3 separate regions of the Homo sapiens genome follow, and all the other regions are linked to region 1. The links are contacts of gene promoters, found by promoter capture Hi-C in blood cells and fetal thymus (Javierre and others, 2016). All regions are on one chromosome and are shown on one strand. Each heading gives the region's core, a stretch centred on a gene start or on the middle of the fragment in contact. The rest is flanking DNA. Distances are from core to core; before and after follow the strand shown. Region 1 holds the start of SCARF2 (scavenger receptor class F member 2). Region 2 overlaps ZDHHC8 (zDHHC palmitoyltransferase 8). Region 3 has its middle 25 kb from the start of CCDC188.

Region 1 (2,981 bases), core at 157-2,656:
AGTGGTTGGCCTGTTTATTTGTCCCCAGGTAGTTGCATTCGTGTCCACACTAGTTCCACTTCTCTTTCAGCCCACCCCACCTCCCTCCTGCACCAGCATGGCTGAGTGAGGGGCCTGCTCCTCCCCATCCCACTCTCTGCCTGTGCCAGCCTGGTGATGCCCATGGCCTTGGGCCTTTCAGTGGCTCCTCCTCCAAGCCCCCTCCTCCAGCCCCACCCTTCGGGGCTATCTGGCCACACCTGGACAGAGTCTGCCTGCCCTCCCTCAGTGAGCCTGTGGGCCGCATGTGGCCTGCTCCCCAAAGAACGGAGGTGCCCGCTCCCTGCTTAGGCCTTCTGCCAGCTCTCAAGTCCCCAAAAGACAAACATCCTCACTAGGACCTGGCTACACACGGGACATTTGTGCTCCCTGCCCAACTTCCAGAGTCGGTCTGCCCCAGTTGCCCCCCGGGGACCCGCACCCTGCTGCCTCCCAGTCCAAGTCCAGCTTCCCCGCTGGCTCCCTAGGGCCTGTCCCTCTGTCTTGCTCCCTTCCCACACCTTCCTTCTGCTCTGTGCTGTTACCCACCTTACCTGATGCAGGAGTTCCCACTCTCTAGCCCCAGCCTCTCCTGGAAATCCGACAGCCAGCAGAATCCACCGCCCAGGCTCCCCCAGCCCCCTTCACTCCTCAACTAGGACTGCAGGGTTTCCATCCCGGGGGTCTCCTTCTGTCTTTACCTCTACTTCCTACCGCAGTCCACAGCCTGGCCATTCTACTTCCTCTGTATCTCTCCCATCCGTCCCTACGGAGACCCCTTCCCCCAGGCCTCTGGTCCGGACCGAGTCTACCACAGGCCTCAAGCATCCTGCTCGGTCCGCCCCTTGCGAGCTCTGAGTGCGCAGGAGTGCGCAGGGGGAGCTGACCGCACACCCCAGCACTACAAGGACTTCGCGGTGGGGTGCTGTGGAGTTGGCTTTCGGCCTCGACCTGGGCTGTCTGCGGGCCCCACTCCCTTGGCCGGTTCCGAGGCGCTGGGAGCGGGGGTGGGCTTGCGGAGTCGCGTCCGTGTCCCCGATCCGCCTTCCCGTCCCGGGCCTGGCCTACGCAGTGGGCGCGCAGGGGCGGCTGCTTCGGTAGATGTCTAGGGAGCGGAGGGAAAGGCGCGGGAACCGGGGATTCCTCGGGCGGACCCTCCCTCCACCAGCGCTCGGCGGGCCTCCTCCAAGTTCGCCCCCAAGTTTGCGAGCGGCCAAATGGGGGCGGGGGCTGCGCGGAGGGGCGGTGGCTAGGCCGGAGGGTGGGGTCTGGAGCGCGGGGCGGGCGCTGCCGCCTGGCCGGCCGCGGCTGGCCCGGGATCAGGGAGCCGATGTGGAATTTCCTGCCCGGCTCGGCGCCCCTCCTGCCGCCCCCCGCCCGGCCTCGCACTCCGCTTCCGGCCGCTCTCGCTGCGGCCGCACCCGCGCCCGTGCCCGCCCCGCGCCTGCCCCGCGCCTCATGGAGGGCGCAGGGCCCCGGGGGGCCGGGCCGGCGCGGCGCCGGGGAGCCGGGGGGCCGCCGTCACCGCTGCTGCCGTCGCTGCTGCTGCTGCTGCTGCTCTGGATGCTGCCGGACACCGTGGCGCCTCAGGAACTGAACCCTCGCGGCCGCAACGTGTGCCGTGCTCCCGGGTAGGAGCCGGCCTGGCTGGGGGAGGGGGCGAGAGGGACGCTCTGGGCAGTGGTGTGGCGGCGCCGGGCATTGGGAGGGGGCTACCGGAACCTTCCTACGCCAAGTGTGGGCCCCTTCGGCTCCCTAGCCAGCGCGGCTCCGTTCCAGGCCCAGCCTCGGCCATGGGCCACGACAGTGCATCCCAGGGAACCCTGGACGAGAAGTCACCTGAGGGGAGGATGGAGTGCCGTGGGCACCCAGGGGATGACACGCGTTGTCCGGGATATCAGGAAAGACCTGGAAAAAGGGACCCTTGACCGAGTTGTGAAGTCCACGGGGAAAAGCTGGGGAAGGGCATTCAAGCCAAAGGAACTGCATGTGCTAAAGCCCCGCACTAGTCCGACTGGAGCCGGGAGTGGGAGTGAGGAGGAAGGTCAGGGGAGGAGGAGCGGTGCTAGCCGGGGAGGTCCTGGAGCAAGCCAGACTTGGAAAGACAGATTCGCGTCTTAGAGCGGGCGCGGGTGGGAGGGTGGTGACCCAGGCGAGCGTCGAGGAGCCGGCGCTCGAAGTGGACCAGAAGCGGGAGGCGGAAGGACTATGACAGGCACAGGGGACCGGAGGATGTGGGAACCCTGGCGACAACCAGGTGGGGATTCTGGGTGCAAGAAGGGGCCGCGCAAATGTGGGGCGCCGGCTGGGGAAGCCAGTGTGGGACAGGCAGGCGACAGGCCCGGCCGGTGGGGGGGCGAGTCCGGGAGTTTGCACGGAGGGCAGAGAGGTGAGCCCCGGACGCCAGGAGTTAGGAGCTGGGGTCGGGGGAGCCGGTGGGCTGGCCAAAGGCCACAAGGTCAAGGGCATCTCCACGCAGGGGTGAGGAGCGGGCGTGTGGGGGCGCCTTGGCGCGGATTGGAGACGCCGCACGGGCTGGCAGCCGCAGAGGCGGCCGCCGGGCTCCGAGCTGGGTCGCGTCGGGGCGCCTGAGCCACGGACCCGGGGCAAGCCGAGTCCAGGGGCTCGGCGCCAGAGACAAGGGGCTGCGAGGGGGCAGCGCGGGGTTTCCGAACTCTGGTCCGGAGGCGCGCAGACCCCTCCCCGCTGCGAGCCCCGCCTCCGGGGCGGGGGCCGGCCTGGCCCGCCATCTGCTTCGCATCGATGCCGCCGCCGCGGACTCCCGGGCCTCCCCGGCCCCAGGAATGCAGCGGCGGCGGCGGGCGGGGCGGTGCCTGGAGAGGGGGAGGGCGCGATCGCCGTGGTCTCTGTCTACTCACTCCAGCCCTCTTTCCCAGACAGGCCCGGGACCAGGAATGGGGGTCCGGTGCCAGGCTCTAGCTGTCCGGAGCCTGAGAGCCCTT
Region 2 (2,981 bases), core at 146-2,645, 300 kb after region 1:
CCTAGCCCCCTCCCAAGAATCTGTCTACGGCTCTGTCTGCCCCATCCACCTCTTCTAGGCCCCCACCAACCTGCCTGTTTCCCCATCCAAGGGCCTGACTGCCAGCCCATCCCTAAGCCCAGGCGCCCACCTTGCTACGGCCCAGGCCAGCCTTCAGCCCGTTGTCACTAAGCTTGACCTTGAGCGGTGCAGCTCGGTCCAGGAGTTCAGGCCTAAGGAAAGGCGGCTTCAAACTCACCGCGAGCGGCAGCCGGGGTGGCTCCACCACGTACCTGCACCAGGGCACAGGGGTCAGTAGCCAGCCCACCTGCCACAAACACACAAGGGCAGGGCTGGCCATACCTGGCAAGAGCCAAACGGACCAAGAGGGTCTAAGGCTGCCCGCCCCACACCCAGCAGAGGCCCCCCTCCACCCTGCCCAGGCCGGGCCTCACCGGGGCGCCAGGGGGCTACACAGCACGTGCTCCACATTCCCACAGCAGCCTCGGGTGAAAGGGTTCACACCCCCGCGGAACTTCCCAGTCACCTGTGGATGCAGGACCCTCAGCCAGCCTGGCCTCCCAAGGTCCAGGCCAGGGTGGGCAGGGGGCTGGGCAAGGGAGCTGGGGTTCCTTAGAAGCTGATACTTGCGGGAAGTGGCTTAGGTGGGATCAGCCCAGGGCTGCCCCTCACATAGGTTACCCAGCCTGAACTTGCAGGGAGCTGTGGGATTTCTGGGTCACTGGTGGCCACAGTGTCCACAGGCAGGATGTGCGCAGGGGACGGGGCAGGCGTAGCCCCACGTGGGGGTCTCAGAGTTGGAGCCTCGTCTCAACACAGCTGCACAAGCTACCTCAGGCAAGGGTGCCCCAGCCCCCACCCTGTCCCCATGCAGCCCCAACTCTCTCGGCCCTTTGGGGCCACCCATCCCCCATGGGGTCTGCACCTGCTCGTTGGTGGTGCGCCCCCGAGTGACCAGCACCACATGGAAGCCAGTGAGGCCAATGACAGGGATGAAGAAGAGGCCGGCCACACACATGACAGCCATGCTAGCCCGTTAAGGCCAACGGTGCAGGCCAGGACACCGCAGACCCCATCGCAGCAGCACAGAGCAGGTGCCTGTGGACAAACCTCCTCCCAACCTAGGGACGGCCACCTGCCCACTGGGGATCCCTGGGCAGGAACCAAGCCTTCTGAGGCTCAATCTCCCTGGTGAACGTGTCCCCGGTCCACATCGCCTCTGCAATGAGGCCCACAGGAACCAAGGATACGTGATGGTGGTGTGCGCGGCTCCCAGCCCCTCAGCGTGGTTCAGCACGTAGACCAGGCCGAAGGCCACGACGCCCACCATGTGTGCACTGAGTGACAGCAGGAACAGGAAGAAGTAGCGATAGTTTCGACGCCCGATGCAGTTGTTGACCCAGGGGCAGTGGTGGTCAAAGTCCTGGGCGGGAGCAGTGCATCAGGGCACATGGCAGGCAGGGATGTGGCACAGGGCTGGGGGAGCGCGGGGCAGCAGGGCGGTCACCTCTACACAGTTGTCACAGACGCTGCAGTGGGAGCAGCGCGGCGGGCGGTAGAAGTGGCACGTGGCACACCACTTCATGCGGACCTGGATACCTCGCACATCCACGTTCTTGTACAGCGGAGCCCGGAAGTCGTCCTCCTTGTCCTCATCCTCATCCGCTACAGACCAGGAGCCAGGCAGTGAGCAGGAAGTTGACTTTCCTGGCAGGTGAATCCCTCCCCCAAGTCCAGCCCACCCACCAGGAATCCCTAAGGCTGTCTCAAGTTAGCCACTCACACTCTAGTGAAAGTGAGAGGAGCTGCCGCAGCACAGGGCCCTACCTCGGGGGAAAACACCAGGGTCCATGAAAGTGGCCATGCTGAAGTTGGCCAGGACAAAGAGGAAGATGATGCCATTGTAGACGGGAACAGCTGGGGACACAGCTCGTGTCAACCACGGGCACCTGCAGTAGACAGTGGGGGCAGAGAGTGGAGTCTGGGGGTGCAGAGCGGATGCAGGCGCAGAGCTATGTGGTGCGGCAGGCTGGGCCTGCAAGGTCACCCTCAGAGCTCAGAGGCAGTGGGGAGGCTGCCACAGCCCTGCCAAGAAACCTCAGCCACATCGCTCCTTCGAGTAACGGCCAGAGGCTGTGCGTATCAGTACAGCATGTGGGCTACCCGTGCCCTGACCCGGCAACCTCTCAGGGCAGCCGTCTCAGAGAGGCCCACAGACCTAAGGTCACCCCATTCCAGCGACCTAGGCTCCATGACTGGGGCGGGGTAGGGGGCGGGGGCGGTACACAGGCTGGAGGTGGGAGCCCCAGATGGAAAATGCGCCACGATGCCTCATCCAGGCCTGTCCCTGGCCCAGTGGGGCCTCTCACCAGGCAGATTCTGGGGTGTGGGGAGCCCCAGTCCTTGGTCAGTAAGTGCATGGGGCATGTCTCCCCTACTCTTCCCAGTCAGGCACATCCCCATCCAGACAGCCCCTTCTTTTTAGTTTGTCACCTCCCTCCCCAGATGACAAAGTAGAACACTTAGGGACTCTAGAATGCACAACACCCCCCACCACTTCCCATCTTCCCAGCCATCAGCACTTGGCTCCAAGGCCACCCCCTCTTCCGGGAAGCTTTCCAGGACTCCAGGCTGCCCTCTGCAGCTTCCCTATAAGGTGTGCCCTCACACACCTTCCTGAAAGGCGCCTTCCTCAGCCCTTAACGGGCCTGGCCCGAGTCCCCTCTGAAGAGACTTGCCGGTCCTCGGGCCACACGGCCTGCAGCGGGTTCCTAAATCCACCCACTCAGCTTCCAAGAAGCCCCTCTGGCCTCAGGCTCCTTGTCTCTCCCCTGCGCACCCTGAGACAGCTGCTGTGACAAGCAGCAGGGACAGGAACACAGGGGTTTGCGTCCCTCCCTGCACCCAGGCCCTCTGCATAGTCGGGGGGCTAGTGGGGATCCCCCACAGCAGCCCTGACCTCTATGGCCACTAGCAGTGGA
Region 3 (2,981 bases), core at 137-2,636, 260 kb after region 1:
GGGGCAGGTCCGGCCTGCATGCTGTGTCGAAGAAATGCAACACAATTAATTAGCCCCTAAAAAAAGCGTTTGAAGTGTTTATTGCAGGACGGCGCTCCTGGTTTTATAAACAGATGGGGAAATAAAGTGGTGGGGATGACAAGCCGGGAACAGCTGCACAGGGACCCGGAACCTAATTCATAATTCAGCAGACTAATCAGAGAACATCTTCTGCAGGCGCCATAACGAAGGGACGTGAGGCCGCAACTGATGAGCCAATCCCCATGCGCCTGCCACGCCAGCCACGCCCCTGCACTGCTGACCCCAGTGTGAGCCCCTGCCTCCAGCCCTGGCCTGACCGAAGCACCCAGCCCCATCCCTGGTCACAATGACCTCCTGCCAAGCTTTCAGCAGGCGTTTTCTCAGCAGCTCCCTGCAACATTTAGTCACAAGCCCATTTTTCAGGAGAGGAAACTGAGGCGCAGGGAGAGTGAGCCTGAGGGACCTGCCCTGGTGGGTGCATACCCCCACAAGCCCTGGATCCCCAATCCACTGCCCAGGGGTGCACCCAAAGAGGTGGGTTTGGCCCTCCTGGACCACCCTGGATCCTCTTGTGCAGGAGGGACTCCAAGTAGACTGAGGAGCTCTTCCCTTCCAGCAGTTGAGATGTGGAGGGAGAAGGAAGAAGGGGGAGAGTGTTTACCAGCCAAGAGGACGTGGGATGGGTGTGAGGCTGGCCTTTGAGGAGCATGGACTGGGCGGGGACCTACCGGTGGGTTGTACATGGGGAAGCCCATGGGCCCCGAGCAGGGAACCTGGAATAATTGAACATAAAAATTCACATGCATTTGGCCAGGCGCAGTGGCTCACACCTGTGATCCCAGCATTTTGGGAGGCCGAGGTGGGAGGATCACTTGAGGTCAGGAGTTTGAGACCAGTCTGGCTAACATGGCGAAACCCCGTCTCTACTAAAAATACAAAAAAATTAGCCAGGCGTGGTGGCGCACGCCTATAGTCCCAGCTACTTGGGAGGCTGAGGCAGGAGAATTGCTTGAACCCAGGAGGTGGAGGTTACAGTGAGCCAAGATCGCGCCACTGCACTCCAGCCTGGGTGACAGAGTGAGACTCCATCTCAAAACAATAAAATAAAATAAAATAATTCACATGCATTTTATGAATCTTCTAGCTCCGACAGGAGCCCCAGTGTTCACAGCAGTCGTGGACTGTAAAATGCACAAGATGAAATGTTTGTGACAGCCGTAAAGTCCTCGTTTTCTCCTCGGCTGCAGTGGAAACATGGGGCAGCGGGGCCGTGGGCGCCAAGCCTCCCCATCCCCCGCTGGCCCCTGCCCCTGCCGCACGTGCTCGTGTGTGCCCTGTGAGTACCCAGCAAGACATGGGGACTGAGGAAAGAGCCCAGCTCACACCTGCCCTCTGCAGCTCACGGCCTCCTCAGGCAGACATATGGGGTCAATTAAACTCTGCAACAAGCCTTTTACTTAAACACATCAAACCACAAATACCATCAGAGTGGTTGATGTCGTAGCAGAGGAAGGCAAGGGGGCTGCGGTGCCTACAGGGGTAGTTCAGGGGCCTTGTGGAGTTGGGCTCCAAAGTCTAGGTAGGAGCTTGCCAGTGTGAGCAGCACCAGTCACCCGCCACTGTGGCACTGGCGCCGGATGGGACTCAGACGTGGGTTAGAAAGCCCCCAGTCAGACCCTCACCCCAACCCCCACTGGACCTCACATGCTTTCTCCCCACAGGATTTCAGAGGATGGCAGGGGAATGGGGAAACATGTGTCCGGCTACCTGCTGCTGCATGACAAAGCAGCCCAGTCTCTTGTGTGCTTGGTCTGTGGGTCTGGAGCCCGGGCAGGGCCCAGCAGGGCGGTGTGGGCAGCTCTTCTGCTGTGCATGGCATCGAGGGGGCATTCAGTGTACTCAGCCCCAGCTGTGCCCCCAGGCCTGGCCTCGGCAGACCGGCTGCAGGGCTGAGCCCCACAGGCCCTCCCGCTCCGTGGGCTCTCCCTGCTGGTCAGATTCCTTCAAGGCAGCTCAGGACCAAAAGCAGAAAGCAGAACAGCTGGGCTCTGAGGGCCTGGGGTGCAGCGCAGCGCCATGTCCACCCAACACCAATGGTCAAAGCTGTCCAGGCCTTCCTAGGTCCAGGGAGGGATGAAGACTGACAGACTCACAGAAGGTCAAGGAATGTGCGTTTGGCCCCGTTGAGTCTCTGCAGGATGGGCTCAGTACAAAGCGCTGGGCAGGGCAGAGGAGCAGAGCCCACCTGGACCCCAGCCAGGAGCCCACAAGTGCCAACAGCTCCCTGGGAAACAGGACCAGGGCCCCCAGCTCCTGGGTGGGCGAGGTATGCAGTAACTGGCCCCTCAGGGGGTGGAGCCAAGCTTGGAGACCCCTGCCGAGGCAGGGTCTCAGTGCTGAAGCAGGATTTGGACCCACTTTTTCTGTACTCTGACCCCTTTCCCAAAGTCAACCTCCCTTTGAGGTCCTCTCCCCAAAACACCCCCTGACCAGCACAGCCCTCCTCTGCGTGCTGCAGGCAGACTCCTCCCTGTTCCTACACCACCTGCCCGAGGTCCCCCAGCTCTTGAATGGCAGAGTGAGGACATGAAGCCGGTGTCCCTGACTCCAGGGCTGTGTTCTTGGCCCCAGCCCGGACCCCCGCATGCATCTACATCTGCTGTCTGCACTTGGTACCTGCCGCTCTTCCCCGGCCCCCACTGTCCCACAGTGAGACAGAACCCTGATCAGACTCCCTGCACAGAAGGAAGGGCGCTGCTCCTCCCACCCTCTGCCCAGGTGAGGTGCCACCACAGGCTGCTCAGAGCCCCAGGAAGTTGACTGGAGGGCAGGACGGCACCTTGTGTGGTGGGGCCACCGTGCAGGTAGAAGCAACATGCGACCCGGGTGGACACAGCCCCACAGGCTGCAGGGCTTAAGCAGGGCAGCCAGGATCCTCCCTCAGCGCCCCCTCGCAACCC

Evidence for each region. Contacts are between HindIII fragments. The CHiCAGO score rates a contact against its expected background, and 5 or more counts as called.
Region 2: a contact is called between a fragment that was not itself captured here and the fragment with the promoter of SCARF2 in region 1, in 3 of 17 cell types (M0 macrophages, endothelial precursors and M1 macrophages). The highest score is 7.4, in M0 macrophages.
Region 3: a contact is called between a fragment that was not itself captured here and the fragment with the promoter of SCARF2 in region 1, in 2 of 17 cell types (erythroblasts and endothelial precursors). The highest score is 5.4, in erythroblasts.

What each region holds. Positions count from the first base shown.
Region 1 is chr22:20,436,250-20,439,230 of GRCh38, reverse strand. SCARF2 (scavenger receptor class F member 2) reads left to right here and starts at 1,406. Exons shown (of 11, transcript NM_182895.5): 1 at 1,406-1,649. The coding sequence starts at 1,477. It overlaps LOC107985588 (a long non-coding RNA gene), which reads right to left and starts at 1,235. Exons shown (of 2, transcript XR_001755623.2): 1 at 720-1,235. The HindIII fragment of the contact is 6,009 bases long and covers 1-2,981 here.
Region 2 is chr22:20,138,162-20,141,142 of GRCh38, reverse strand. ZDHHC8 (zDHHC palmitoyltransferase 8) reads right to left here. Exons shown (of 11, transcript NM_013373.4): 2 at 1,828-1,949; 3 at 1,508-1,665; 4 at 1,251-1,423; 5 at 926-1,028; 6 at 435-526; 7 at 131-272. Among named protein-coding and RNA genes, the nearest start is that of ZDHHC8, 7.8 kb to the right of the region's middle. RefSeq lists an enhancer at 2,960-2,981. The HindIII fragment of the contact is 2,442 bases long and covers 175-2,616 here.
Region 3 is chr22:20,174,113-20,177,093 of GRCh38, reverse strand. No RefSeq gene overlaps it. Among named protein-coding and RNA genes, the nearest start is that of CCDC188, 25 kb to the right of the region's middle. RefSeq lists an enhancer at 1-303. The HindIII fragment of the contact is 2,001 bases long and covers 386-2,386 here.